Linked DNA regions of Homo sapiens: all the other regions are linked to region 2. Evidence: promoter capture Hi-C in 16 types of primary human blood cells and fetal thymus (Javierre and others, 2016). All regions are on one chromosome and are shown on one strand. Each heading gives the region's core, a stretch centred on a gene start or on the middle of the fragment in contact. The rest is flanking DNA. Distances are from core to core; before and after follow the strand shown. Region 1 overlaps CCDC88B (coiled-coil domain containing 88B). Region 2 holds the start of NRXN2 (neurexin 2). Region 3 holds the start of LINC02724 (long intergenic non-protein coding RNA 2724). Region 4 holds the start of LOC105369341 (a long non-coding RNA gene). Region 5 has its middle 6.4 kb from the start of SYVN1.

The links. Contacts are between HindIII fragments. The CHiCAGO score rates a contact against its expected background, and 5 or more counts as called.
Region 1: a fragment that was not itself captured here is called in contact with the fragment with the promoter of NRXN2 in region 2 in 1 of 17 cell types (M0 macrophages); the score reaches 6.8 in M0 macrophages.
Region 3: a contact is called between a fragment that was not itself captured here and the fragment with the promoter of NRXN2 in region 2, in 2 of 17 cell types (megakaryocytes and M0 macrophages). The highest score is 7.2, in megakaryocytes.
Region 4: a fragment that was not itself captured here is called in contact with the fragment with the promoter of NRXN2 in region 2 in 6 of 17 cell types (endothelial precursors, M1 macrophages, M2 macrophages and 3 more); the score reaches 9.6 in endothelial precursors.
Region 5: a fragment that was not itself captured here is called in contact with the fragment with the promoter of NRXN2 in region 2 in 1 of 17 cell types (neutrophils); the score reaches 6.8 in neutrophils.

Annotation. Positions count from the first base shown.
Region 1 is chr11:64,350,146-64,352,845 of GRCh38, forward strand. It overlaps CCDC88B (coiled-coil domain containing 88B), which reads left to right. Exons shown (of 27, transcript NM_032251.6): 17 at 1,015-1,110; 18 at 1,331-1,471; 19 at 1,985-2,241; 20 at 2,599-2,700. Among named protein-coding and RNA genes, the nearest start is that of RPS6KA4, 7.7 kb to the right of the region's middle. The HindIII fragment of the contact is 5,801 bases long and covers 1-2,700 here.
Region 2 is chr11:64,721,937-64,724,636 of GRCh38, forward strand. NRXN2 (neurexin 2) reads right to left here and starts at 1,261. Exons shown (of 23, transcript NM_015080.4): 1 at 1,035-1,261. RefSeq lists silencers at 1,141-1,435, 1,422-1,721 and an enhancer at 2,102-2,151. The HindIII fragment of the contact is 9,459 bases long and covers 377-2,700 here.
Region 3 is chr11:64,448,788-64,451,487 of GRCh38, forward strand. LINC02724 (long intergenic non-protein coding RNA 2724) reads left to right here and starts at 270. Exons shown (of 2, transcript NR_073177.1): 1 at 270-865; 2 at 1,110-2,700. RefSeq lists an enhancer at 609-858, a cis regulatory region at 748-1,017 and a silencer at 795-990. The HindIII fragment of the contact is 1,996 bases long and covers 418-2,413 here.
Region 4 is chr11:64,418,679-64,421,378 of GRCh38, forward strand. LOC105369341 (a long non-coding RNA gene) reads right to left here and starts at 1,537. Exons shown (of 4, transcript XR_001748069.2): 1 at 1,459-1,537. LOC124902689 (a long non-coding RNA gene) reads left to right here. Exons shown (of 2, transcript XR_007062720.1): 1 at 1-1,944; 2 at 2,054-2,392. The HindIII fragment of the contact is 311 bases long and covers 1,263-1,573 here.
Region 5 is chr11:65,139,582-65,142,345 of GRCh38, forward strand. No RefSeq gene overlaps it. Among named protein-coding and RNA genes, the nearest start is that of SYVN1, 6.4 kb to the left of the region's middle. The HindIII fragment of the contact is 8,517 bases long and covers 1-2,764 here.

The DNA of each region.
Region 1 (2,700 bases), core at 201-2,700, 370 kb before region 2:
AGGGGCTTGGGAGGGTGGTACCCAGCAAGATACCCAGCAGGTGCATGCGAGTCTATCAGGGAAGGTTTTGTGGAGAAGGTGGGGTTGAAACAGAGGCTTAGAGAAGGCCCCACACAGCAGCTCATGCCTGTAATCCCAGCACTTTGGGAGGCCAAGGCAGGTGGATCACCTGAGGTCAGGAGTTCGAGACCAGCATGACCAATATGGTGAAACCCCATCTCTACTAAAAATACAAAAATCAGGCCGGGCGTGGTGGCTCACGCCTGTAATCCCAGCACTTTGGGAGGCCGAGGCAGATGGATCATGAGGTCAGGAGATCGAGAGCATCCTGATGAACACCGTGAAACCCCATCTCTACTAAAAATACAACAACAACAACAAAAATTAGCTGTTAGCTGGGCATGGTAGTGGGCGCCTGTAGTCCCAGCTACTCAGGAGGCCGAGGCAGGGGAATTGCTTGAACCTGGGAGGAGGAGGTTGCAGTGAGCCGAGATCACACCACTGCACTCCAGCCCGGGTGACAGAGTGTGACTCCGTCTCAAAAAAACCCAAAAAAACAAAAAAAACCCTAAAAATTAGCCAGGCGTGGTGGCCCACATCTGTAATCCCAGCTACTCGGGAGGCTAAGGCAGGAGAATTGCTTGAACCCGGGAGGCAGAGGTTGCAGTGAGCCCAGATCACACCTCTGCACTCCTGGCTGGGTGGCAGAGTGAGACTCTGTCTCAAAACAAAAACAAAAAACCAAATAGTCTTAGAGGAGTAGTGGGATGGAGAAGTGTTATGAGCAGAAGGCTCTGCCGCAGAGAGACAGAAGTTGAGAAGGGCAGGGTGGTGACGGTGGAGCTTCAGGAACCAGGAGCAGGGACTTGTGGGATCCAAGGGAAGGCATGGGATTGGGGCGGGGTGGACTAGGCTAAATGCTGCTGGCAGGGCAGGTCCATAAGCGCAGGTCCTTGAGGCATCCCCAAGGCACTGCGGCTGTCCCGCATGACCTCCCAGGGACTCTCCTTGCAGCTGCGCCAGGGCCCCGCGGGGCTGGGGCCCAAAAAGCGTGCGGAGCCTCAGCTGGTGGAGACCCAGAATGTGCGGCTTATTGAGGTGGAGCGCAGTGTGAGTGTGGGCCCACAGTGGGCCCTGGGGAGGTGCCCCGTGCAGTGTGAGTGTGGGTCCACGGTGGACCCTGGGCTGGGGGGTATCCCGTGCAGTGTGAGTGTGGACTCACAGTGGGCCCGGGGGTGGGGGTGCCCCATGCAGTGTGAGTGTGGGCCTGTGGTAGGCACTAGGGGGTGCCCCCGCCACCTGGCTATTGCTAACCCCCACTTCTGGGCAGAATGCGATGCTGGTGGCAGAGAAGGCAGCTTTGCAGGGGCAGCTGCAGCACCTGGAGGGGCAGCTGGGGAGCCTGCAGGGCCGTGCCCAGGAGCTGCTGCTGCAGAGCCAGCGGGCGCAGGAGCACAGCAGCCGCCTGCAGGTGGGTGGTGGCCCGGGTGCCCATCCCTGCCCATGTACTGCCCCCTCCTGCTCCTTTTGGATCATCCTGTGGCCTTTTTCTATCCCAGCTCCCAGCCAGCTGCCCCACCTCTTCCCCAGTCTCATTTATCCTTGTCCTCTGACCCCAGCCACCATTTTGCACCATCCTCCCTGCCACTATCTCCTCCTACCTGCCGCCAGCCCCCACATCTACACCCATGTCGCCCTGCGCTCTCACTGTCCCAGCCCTCCCCTCCACAGGGCGCCATTAGTCCCATTCTGCCCTGTGCCCCTTCCGGACAGCCTGGCCCAGCCAGCCTCTGCCGCCTCTCCCCTGCTCACCATCAGCCTCTGGCTGGGGCTTGTACTGCCTGCTGTGCCCCCAGCCCTTTGCCTCCTCCACAACTCTCTCATTGTCTTGGGCCCTACCGTCTGCCCTTAGCCCCCCGCCTCTCACTCGATTTCCAGCCAGGGGTTCCTCCCCAGCAGCCCCTGCTTCCCTCCTCCATCCTAGGCCGAGAAGTCTGTGCTGGAGATTCAGGGCCAGGAGCTGCACCGGAAGCTGGAGGTGCTGGAGGAGGAGGTGCGGGCGGCACGGCAGTCCCAGGAGGAGACCCGCGGGCAGCAGCAGGCCCTGCTTCGGGACCACAAGGCCCTGGCACAGCTGCAGCGGCGGCAGGAGGCCGAGCTAGAGGGACTGCTGGTGCGGCACCGAGACCTCAAGGCCAACATGCGGGCACTGGAGCTGGCCCACCGGGAGCTGCAGGGCCGGTGAGCATCACCAAATGCCCAGCTCCTCCCCTGGCACCCCCTATCTGCCAGAGAAGACTCCCCTCAGCAGGTCTGACTCCCCATCAGGAAGCACCTCCACCTCCGCTCTGTGATGCCCCGGCCACTGCTGTGCCCTCTGGGGTAGCTGTGCTCCCCACACTTCTGGGTTGGGCTCCCCGTGGGGCTCACCTATTGGGAGTGGTGGGCACCTGGCATGGCATTCTGCCCAATGGCTTCCTCTGGGGGACCTAGGCTTAGGAGGTGACAGACCCCCCCGCCCCGGGTCCAGATAGTCCAGCCAGCTGCTTGTGGTGGCCATAGGTTCACACAGCCCTCTTAGCCCCTTGTCCATCCCAGGCACGAGCAGCTGCAGGCCCAGCGGGCCAGCGTGGAGGCACAGGAGGTGGCCCTGCTGGCAGAGCGTGAACGCCTGATGCAAGATGGGCATCGGCAGCGGGG
Region 2 (2,700 bases), core at 11-2,510:
CAGCCCTTGCTAGCTCAATGAGGCATCGAATGCCCTCTCCCAAGATTCAGGAGGGGGGTGAGAGTAAAGGAGACAACAGCACCCCAAAGCCAATTGTGCCCCAAAAGCCCATCAAGGGTTCAAGGGCTCATACCCCAACCCAAAGACCCCAGGGAAGATTGCTGCTTCAGCTGGGGGAGGAGGCTGGGACATGAGAAATGGTCCCTTCCTCTTTAGGGGTGGGGGAGCAAGCCAAGGGCCCTGCAGCTTCCTCTCCCCCTGCAGCACTCTCTGACCAGAACCCTGTCACCGCCCCCAGCGCATTCCCACCCCAGCAAAGCCCCCTCCTACTGATTTCCCAGTCTCCCTGTCTCATCACCCCCAGCCTTCCCCCGCAAGCTTCCGCTCCTCTCCCTCAGACCCCATCTTTCCCAGCTCTCCACCAGCACAGACCCATCTCTGCCTGGAGCACCTTGGCACATTCCCCTCTGCTCTCTCCCAATAACCTCTTCTCCCCTTGGCTCCCATCCCCCAGGAAAGCCTGGTCCTCAGTGGGTCCCCTCAGGACGAAGCCCTTGGCCTGGCCCCTTTCCTTCCCTCTCCACTTCTCTCTCTTCTCCAGCCCCCTCTCCTCTCCTCCCACGAAGCCCAGTTTCTCGCTGGTTAGACCCTCCAGAACACAACAGCTCCTCTGGCCCGGCGCTGCTTCAAGCCTCTGGGGCTAGCACAGACTGGGGACCCCCCTTTAAGAACCCCCTCTAAGTCCTCTGGATGCCCCTCCTCTCTCCATCCCTTCCCCCAAAGACCCTTCCTCCCACCCCTCCCCATTCTCCTCAGCTCTCAGGGCCAGTGCCCCTTCCACAGGAGCCTCCGACCCCCAAGCCCCCAGCGGCTTTGCCTCCTCGCTGTCACCGGGCCAGCCCTCTCAGCGCGGCGCCCCCGCCCCCCAATTCATCCGTCCTGCCTCCCTCGCCCCCTCCGATCCGCTCCCCTCCCCCGATCGGCTCCCGCCCCCCGCCCGTCTCCGCCGCAGCGCCCCCCCCCCCCCATTTTACCTGGTTCTCGGGGCGCCAGAAGCTGGAGGGTGGGTAGCAGAGCTACAGGGCCGCCCCGTCTCCGACGGGTGGCAGAGCCAGGGCTAGCGGTGTCTGCCGCCTCGCGCCTCTCTCCCTCCCCGCCGCGTCCCCGCCCGCCCGCCCGCCCCGCCGCGGTGCCTCTCCGAGGAGGATGCTCCGCGAGTCAGGGCGGCTGCTCCCGCCGCCGCATCCCTGCAACACCGACTGACGGCAGCATCAGCACCAGTGCCCGCCCCCGAGACGCGCGCATTGGACCACGCTGCGCTGACGGGCGAGCAGCGCAGCCAATGCAAGGGCTCAGAAGCCGCCAGTCCAGCGGCTCCACAGGCCCACTCCCTCCCTCGCGCGGGACCCAGGCGTCCCGGCCCCAGCACCCGCGCTCCTCCCAGCCTCTCGAGGTTCTCGGGCGCCCGGGCCCCCAACCAGGCGGGCCCCAAACCCGGCCTCAGTGTCTTTTCCGGGAACCCAAGCACTCTCGCCCCTCGCCCCTCGCCCCTTAGTTCGGGGCCTTGGGTCCCGCACCCTCCCCCCACGGCCAGCAGGTCTTCGCGCAGCGCGGGGCTGGGACAAGCCGAAGGAGAGGCTGTGGACCCCGACTTGGGACGCCGCGAGAGCAGGGCTGATGCGGGGCCTGGGCCGCAGCGCCCTCTGCTGGCTACCCCCAGGGGCGGGCCCGGGCTTCGAGGAGCCTAGAGAAGGGGGACTCGGTGGGTCCATGGCTGCTGGGGGCTTTTTCCAGTCGGTAGCCTGGCCCCCACCTCCCACCGTCCGGAGGGCCCCTGGCTTGGAGCCCCCAGAACTGAAGAGGAAGGGGCTTTGCTGGGATAAAGACGGAGGCGGTGGGGGAAGGAAAGGCAGAGATGGGGGCGGGGTAGACCTAGGAACTTGGGGGTTTCCCAGTCCTGCCTCATGGGAATCCCAGAGTTTGAGGCCAAACTCTCAGTTCTGCCTGGAACCCTGGACCGAGGTACGAGTAGGTGTGGGGGCAGGGTTGCGCCTGCACATGCCTGGTGACTGAGGGCACCTGGCAGCAGCCCCCTTCTCTGTTCTCCTCCTCCCATCCATGAGTTTCAGTTAGAGTGGTGCTGGGGGGCGCAGGTCTCTCCTGTAAGGGTACATGCATCACTGTGCATGTGTATGAGTGTGGGGGACTGGGGGACACCCTTCACTCACTCCGCCAATAAAAGTGTACACACACTGGCACTTAGTGTGTATACCCCGAGGTTGGTCACTGGGCTGCTGAATGAGACAGTGAGAGACAGAGTGTGTGTGTGTATGTGTGCCAGACCATTCTGCCAGCTCACTCCAGGACCCTGGTTTCTGTTGCAGGGTCTGTGATCTGCACAGCTGGTGGTAGTTGGCACTTCCTTAGCCAGAGGCAACATGCAAGAACACTTACATTCAACCACCAATGCATGGACATTGGGGCACTCACAGCCATGCACACATATCTGTGAACACTGGGCATTCCCAGAGACACATAAGAACACCTGCAGAAATGCCCCACCATGGTAACACACCCACAGGAAGCATATACTGCCCAAGAACACACACACTTGTGCACACAGGTACCTACACCAGGCAATTAATGCATGCCCAGAACAGCTGCACCCAGGGGACCTGCCCACAGTCATCCTGGACCCCT
Region 3 (2,700 bases), core at 166-2,665, 270 kb before region 2:
TCATCTGGTTACGAGGGCAGGGGCAGGCTGGGGTGGGGCTCATGCGCCCCGGAAGCACCCTGGCTCCTCGCTCTCCCATGCCTCTCCCTTTATGTCCTCTGCTGTCCAGCGCCTGGGCCCCGGCCCTCCCTGGGACACCATCCTGCCCTGCCCGAGTCGTGGCTCTCCAGTCTCTTTCGGGGACTCGCCCCTGGCACCCACTAGATGGCGCTCCCGGCCACTCAGCTCCCCCTGCCTCGCTTGGGGTGGTGCTGGACGTCGGGAGCGCTGGCCTCTGCTCTGCTGATTTGCAGGTGGGAGTGCAGGGTGAGCCCGGCGCAGGGGATAGGAGGTGGGGGAGTCGAGAGCTGGAGTCAGGCGCCGCTCACGCTGGGATGACGGAGTGTTAACCTCAGACTCTGGGTCCCTTTGGGCCGAAGCTTTAAGAAAACAGGGGCAGCGAGCCCGGCGTCCCAAGGAGCCTTGCCAAACTGGGCATGGAGAACGGGCCTCCTGGATGGCCACCCGCCCAGCTGCCAAAGAGGCCGGAGAGCTGGAGCCGGGACTTGGAGGATCTTCTTCAGAGAGGCAGGAGGGCGGTCCGAACGTGCCCCCACCCCTGACCTCAAGCCCATGTGGAGAGGGCCAACAGAGCCTCTTGGAGAGCTGGATTTGCGTCCTCTGCAGCTTGGGGGACACGTCGTTGATGGTGACTGACACGCCCCAGAGATAGTGACATGATGATTAAGAGTGACAGCCTGAGGGAGCTGAGCGCAGCATGGCTGGTCTGGCAGCTGCTGTCGGTGTCGCGACCCCACCCCACTTCCCCGGCTCCCTGCCTCCTTCGCTGGAGAAGCATCCTCAGCCAATGGAGCCACAATACCTGGTACGTTCAGGCGACGCCCACAGCCCACGGCTAACTGTACAAAAGACTGTTCCCTCGCCTGCCTCTAGATGGCGATACCTCTGCCCCAGGGCCCCCTGCATATCTGCCAGAGCTGTATTTACCCTGGGACCACGCCTTTACCGAGTCCTTTCTCCTTCCCCGCCCCTCTGCCCTCACATCCTGGGCGGCTTGTCCCAGGATGAGCCCTCCCCTAGTAAATCCCTGTCTTGGGCTCTGTTTTCAGACAGCTGAAGGCAGGGAACAGCAGGAGGGGCCCCAGGAAGCTGGCCCCAAGGACGGGATGCTGCAGGAGGATGCCCCGCTGGCCCCTGGTGACTGGAGCCCGTTGCGGAGGCCCCTGGCACGAGGTGGCAGAGCAGCTGCTCAGGCCTCCGCCTGTGGTCACCTGGGACAGGACTCAGGTGGACGGGGATGCCCGGCTCGTTTAATATCACTGATGTTGAGAGACAGATGGGAAAATAGCCGTGAGAAGGACGTGGAGTGGGGAGGCTGTCACTGAATACTACTGACACTTAGAAGAGGGAAAATGACAAGTTCAGGGCCACGCATCACCAATTTAAAGCAAAGTCAGGATTCCTTGGCAGAATTTAACGAAATGCTTCTCTTCTATAGCCAGGGGTCAGAGGGCAGAAGACAAGGTGCAGGACTCCAGAGAAGGCCAAATTTCCAGCCCAGGGAAGTCCCTTCTCCAAAGTCAGGGCCCCAAAGGGAAGGGTGGGGTCCCTGATATCTGAGATGGACTATCTGAGGAGACACTCTTGAGACATTGAACCCCCAGATTCTCCTGTACCTCCTGGCCTGCAGAAGTGACCCATTGCCTCTGTTGGAAGACAGAGGTCCTCTTTTGCTTAAAGACCATGCAGAAACTAAGGGAAGGGACCTTACAAGATAAGGAGTTCCTCTCTCCAGCATCTGTCCCCACCTCCCCTCCTGACCACCAGGCTCAAAGCTGGATCATATCTCAGCATGACCTGACCAAGGATGTGCTTTGCATGCCAGGGACCAAGAGGGATTAACAAGCAGAGGAGTGGTGGGAGCAAGCCAGCAGGGACCAGCCGGGTCTAGAGAATGTTCCTAGATGTGGACTCTGAAGGTTCTAGATCAAGGGAGGCTGCATAGTAGCTGGAGACTGGAGAGTTAATTAGTACAGAAAGACTCCCTAACCCCTAAAAAGGCCCTGGGAAGATTCTAATATGTTGCTTGGGAGGGTTCTTTTTTTTTGAGACAGAATTTCTCTCTGTCGCCCAGGCTGGAGTACAGTGGTGCGATCTTGGCTCTGCAACCTCCACTTCCCAGGTTCAAGCGATCCTCCTGTCTCAGCCTCCCGAGTACCTGGGATTACAGGCATGCACCACCATGCCCAGATAATGTATTGTTTTTTTTTTTTTTAGTGGAGATGGGATTTTGCCATGTTGGCCAGGCTGGTCTCGAACTCTTGACCTCAAGTGATCTGTCCACCTTGGCCTCCCAAAGTGCTGGGATTACAGGTGTGAGCCACAGTGCCCAGCACTTGAGGCAGTTCTTGAAAGCTTGGAAGAAGTGATAGTGCATAGGCGATGAAGTGGAGATGTCAGAACAGCCCTGGAGGAAGGTATGCAAAGTCTCAGAGAAGTGGACACGCCAGAATGGCTCTTCTATTGTAGGTTGTACAGGAAAACAGTGTGACAAGAGTGATGCCATCTTAAAACCGCCATATGATGATGAATGTTTCACCCCCATATACCAAGCTGCTCTGCAGTAAGCTCTTTAAACAATGCCTGTACCATACATAACCCTTTGTAAAGATGCTTAGCTAACCCCCTCCCCAAGTGGCT
Region 4 (2,700 bases), core at 168-2,667, 300 kb before region 2:
CGCGTGGATAGACATTCAGGATCTCGTGCTAAGTGCAACGAGCCAGTTATGAAAGGACAGATACTGTAGGATTCCACTTATAGGAGGCACCTGGAGTGAGATGCATAGAGTCAGAGAGTGGAATGGTGGGTGCCAGGGGCTGGGGGAGGGGCAAATGGGGGGTTAGTGTGGAGTTCTGGTTGGGAAGATGAAAAAGTTCTGGAGCTGAATGGTGGGGATGGTCACACAACAATGCACTTAATGTCACTGGACTGTATACTTAAGAATGGCTAAAATGATAAATTTTACGATATACATATTTCACCACAATAAAAGTTAAAAAGAATAATTTAGATAAACCCTGGGAAGGTGTTCATCAAGGTTTCCAAAATGCCAGGTGGTCCTGGTCTTAGTCAGGTGTCTGGATGGAGAATGCTGGTGCCCCAACTCCTCCTCCTGTCTGTGCCCACACGCAGTGCTGGGCCGGACACTTGTCTGTCCTGAGGGGAATGTGCAGCCTCTGGGCCTCCCTGGAGAGAACAGGTGAAGGAATGCCTGGGGCTCTCTCTGTGCCCTCCTCGGGAGGAAACGGGACCCAGGCGATCTTGGACAGAAGCAGGGTCCCGAGCAGGGGATCACTAGCTGCTTCCGTCCGTCTCTCTTCGGCCCTCCTGTCTGCCAGCTGCACCTCTGCTCTCTTCCAAGGGGCAGCCCCCACCAGGGGCAGTTGTCCAGCTCTTGTGCCTGGGCCGGCACTGGCAAGTTCATTTCCATGGGCATAAGCAGTCTCCATTCTGGCTTGGCAGCAATAAACCTGGCACTGGATGTTGTCCTGGTCCATACATATGTGCCAATCGGTCCAGACTCCTAGAGCTCAACAAATGGTCCTGTGAGAGCCTGGCGCTGTGTGAGCCCGGGAAGGCAGTGCAGTGCAGTGGCCAGGTCATGTCACCCAGGCTAGGGCTTGGCCTTCTGGGGAGCACAGCGAGGGATGGCCTGCCCTAAGGAAGGCCCTCTCTGAGGTGGGGATGGTTTTCCAGGGTTCCCTGGGCTCCCAGGTGCTCCCTCCTCCCCTGTACCCCACTCTTCCATACCCCGGGGCTCATCCCTTCTCCACTTGGGTCCTTGTTCCACTGAAAATCTCCCCCTACCCTCCCATCTCATGGTTTTCTTCCTCCCCGCTGGCTCTGCCTTCCCTTCAACCAGCACCAATGCCAAAATCAGCACCAGGAGCTGCCATTCATATCGTCTCTACCATATGCCCATTTGAATCCTTATTGACAAGCTTGTGACCTTTGTCAAATTAGTGACCTATCTGAGCCTCAGTTTCCTTTCCTGTAAAATGGGCACATTAATACCTATTTTACAGATGGTTGTGAGATGGGTCGTGCCTGACACCATTTGGCGCTCAGCCAACTCTTGTTTGTTTCGTCGATTCTGCTGGGTTGCCTGGCATTTTGATTTATCTTTAATTCATACCTTTGAATCTGCTGTAAACTTGGCAGCCACATCACCAAGCTCGTTAGATTGCAGGTTGGGAAGCCTAATTAGGTTCTAAGGAGGTTAGAAATCTGTCCTCAGGGACAAGTTCTCAAGCTTTAGAATGTGGACTCATGACGTCATTTTGGTCCCTGGAGGCATTCTTCTCTAGCTGTATGTGGGAAGCTCTGTGTTCCAGGCTGTGAGGCTGCCAGGCAACAAAGTTTCCCAAGTCTCAAGGAGCCATGTTGTGAGTGTTTGACAGCCAGGTCTTGGAAAGGAAGGCCAACATGCCCTGGGCTGATCAGACTCCATCATGTTGACTCCTGGGAGGCACATTTTTGAGAAACAATTAGGAACCAGGAAGCATTCTGAGGAGGAAAGCCAGGATAAAGAAGACTCAGATAAAAAAGTCATCCCACCAGGTCTGGATGCAGTGTGACTGTATCAGTCAGCTTTTGCTGGGTTATGCCAAGTAACAAACAGGTACCAAACTCAGTGGCTTATAATAATTATAATAAAAAGGGTTGTTCTTATTAATGTTGCACATTGCCTGCAGTAGGTGTGAGCCTGTTCTATGTTTTTTTCATTCTAGGATTCAGGCTGAAAGATCAGCTATGAAACTGCTGGTTTTGAGGCACAGGAAAAAGAGTGATGGCAGAACTGAGAAATGACTTTAAAGCCTCTGCTCAGAAGTGGCTTATATCCCTCTGTTCACATTTTATTGGCCACAGAGAATCACATGATCAAATATGTCTTCAGACTTGATGGGCTTAGGGAGATACCATGCTCCCACAGGGAGGGGTGGTAACTATTTGGCCAGCACAGAGTAGATACCAACAGTTATTAAACTGTTTGTTGAATGAATGAATAGATGAATTCTCTGATCCTGGAAGGATTTAAATAAAGAATGGATGACCATTTGTATTACCTATCTATTGCTGCATAACAAATTATTAAAAAACAGTCTGGGTGTGGTGGCTCTCACCTGTAATCCCAGCACTTTGGGAGACTGAGGTGGGAGGATGGCTTGAGCTCAGGAGTTTGAGATGAGCCTGGGCAATGGAGCAAGACCTCATCTCTATTAAAAAAGTTTATTAAAAAACTTAGTGGCTTAAAGCAACAATAAACATTTATTATCTCACATAGTGTCTGTGGGGCAGTAATTCTGGAATGGTTTACTTAGCAGGATGGCTCAGATTTGAGGTTTCTCATGAGATTGTAGCCAAGTTATTGATCAGA
Region 5 (2,764 bases), core at 61-2,560, 420 kb after region 2:
GTCTCAATCTCCTGACCTCATGATCTGCCTGCCTCGGCCTCCCAAAGTGCTGGAATTACAGGCGTGAGCTACCGCGCCCCGCAATATATTGATTTTCAATATAGGTAACAAGGCAATTCAATGGTGAAAGATGATTTTTCTTTCTTTTTTTTTTTTTTTTTGAGACAGAGTCTTGCTCTGTCACCCAGGCTGGAGTGCAGTGGTGTGATTTTGGCTCACTGAAACCTCCACCTCCTGGGGTTCAAGCATTTCTCCTGCCTCAGCCTCCCAAGTAGCTGGGATTACAGGCGCGTGTCACCACACCCGGCTAATTTTTGTATTTTTAGTAGAAACGGGGTTTCACCATGTTTGTCAGGCTGATCTCGAACTCCTGACCTCAGGTGATTCGCCTGCCTCAGTCTCCCAAATTGCTGGGATTACAGGCATGAGCCACCATGCCCGGCCGAAAGATGATTTTTCAACAAAAGTGCTGAAATAATTGGATATCCATATGAAAACAAAAAACCTCATTCCCTACCTTGCATCGTATACAACACTTAACTTGAAATGAACCGTAGGTCTAAATGTAAAACATAAAACTGTAATATCTCTAGAAGAAAACAAAAAAATCTTAGTAATGTTGGGTTAGGCAAAAATGTCTTAAATAGGATACAAATAGCATAAACTATCAAAGAAACAAATTGATAAATTGGATTTAATCCTAACTAAACACTTTATCTGTTCAAATGACAGTTAAAGGGAGAAAAATTGGGAGAAAATATTTGCCAAGCGTATATCTGACAAAGGACTCATATTGAGAATACATATTATAACTTACTAATAAAAAAATGAAAAGCTAATACAAAATGGGCCAACATTTTGAGCAGACATTTAATCAAAGGTATTCAGATGAGAATAATCCCATAAAATGTGCTCAACACCATCATTATTAGATAAATTCATTGAAAGCAATGCCATACTATTAGTACTAGAATAGTTAAATTAAAAAGATGTCATACAAAGTGGTGGTAATGATGTGGAACACCTAGAATTATCTTAGATTGCAGGTGGGAATACAAAACGGTATAGCCATATTGAAAAAAGGTTCGGTAATTTCTTATAAAGTTAAGTATACATTTACCATATGACCCAGCAATTCCGTTCTTAAGTTACCCAAGATAAATGCAAATATATGTTCATAGAACTAGTGACAGAGAGCATCTCAAGTAGTTGCCAGGGACAGAGGCTAGGGGAGAGGACAGATTGCTCTATGGCACAAGCAAACTTTTTGGATAGTGGAAACATTCTCTATATCATGGTAGTGGTGGTAATTACCTGACTTATACATGTTTGTTAAAGCACACCAAATTGTGTAAGTGACTAATCTTATTGTATGTTAAAACTGGCAAATCTTATTGTATTAACATACAATTATATCTCAGTTAAGTTGACATAAAAGTTGTTGAAAGCAAACTTACATTTTGACCTGGATTTTCCCCTTTCAGGAATCTATCTTGTTGAAGAGCTTGTACATGACCCCAAAGATTTTAAGTCCAAGGATGATTGCCACAGCATTGTTTGAAATAGTGAAACAAGACAATAGAACCACATATCCATTAGGGAGAGAATGGTTAGGTCTGTCTTTTAAATTTTTATTTGTTCGTTTGTTTACTGTATTTTTTGTAGAGTCAGAGTCTTGCCATGTTGCGCAGGCTGGTCTCCAACTCCTGAGCTCAAGCAATCCTCTCAGCCTTGGCAACATAGTGAGACCCCCCTCCTACAAAAAATAAATTATCCAGGTGTGGTGGCTGTAGTCTCAGCTACTCAAGAGGCTGTGGTGGGAGGATTGCTCAAGCCCAGGAGTTCAAGGCTGCAGTGAGCTATGATCCTAAGATCATGCCACTGCACTCCAGCCAGAGTGACAGAGAGAGACCCTATCTCTAAAAGAAAGAAAAAGAAAAGAAAATGGTTAATAAGCACAAAAAAATATGTTAAACATCACTGGTCATTATGGAGATGTAAATCAAAACCATAGAGAGATGATTTCATACCCACTAAAATCATTGTGATAAAAAAAAGACCAACAATAACAAGTGTTGGCAAGATGTGGAGAAATTGGCACCCTTATGTGTTTCTGGTGGGAATGTAAAATAGTGTAAATGCTTTGGAAAACAGTTTGGCAGTTCTTCAGTAAATTAAACATAAAATTACCATATGACCCAGAAATTCTACTTCTAGGTATATGTTCAAGAGAACTGAAAGCATCTGGTCATACAAACACTTGTACAAGAACATTCGTAGCAGCATTATTCATAATAGCCAAAAAGTACAAACAACCCAAATGTCCATGAATGGCTAAACAAAATGTAATGTACCCACACAATGGAGTATTATTTAGCCATAAACAGGAAGGAAGTACTGCTTCATGCTACAACATTGATGAACCTTGAAAACCCTGTGCTCAGTGAAAAAAGCATTCATATCACTGCACTTACGTTACATGTCCAGAATAGACAAGTCCATACAGACAGAAGTAGTTAGTGGTTGCCAAGGGCTGGTGGCGTGAGGAATGGGGCCTGACTGCTAATTGGTATGGGGTTTATTATTTGAGGAGTGATAAAAATGTTCCTGAGGAGATAGTGGCTATGCTTGCACAATTTTGTGAGTATACTAAAAATGACCGAATTGTACACTTTATTTATTTTGAGACACAGTCTCGCTCTGTTGCGAAAGCTGTAGTGCAGTGGCGCGATCATGGCTCACTGCAGCCTGGAACTCCTGGGGT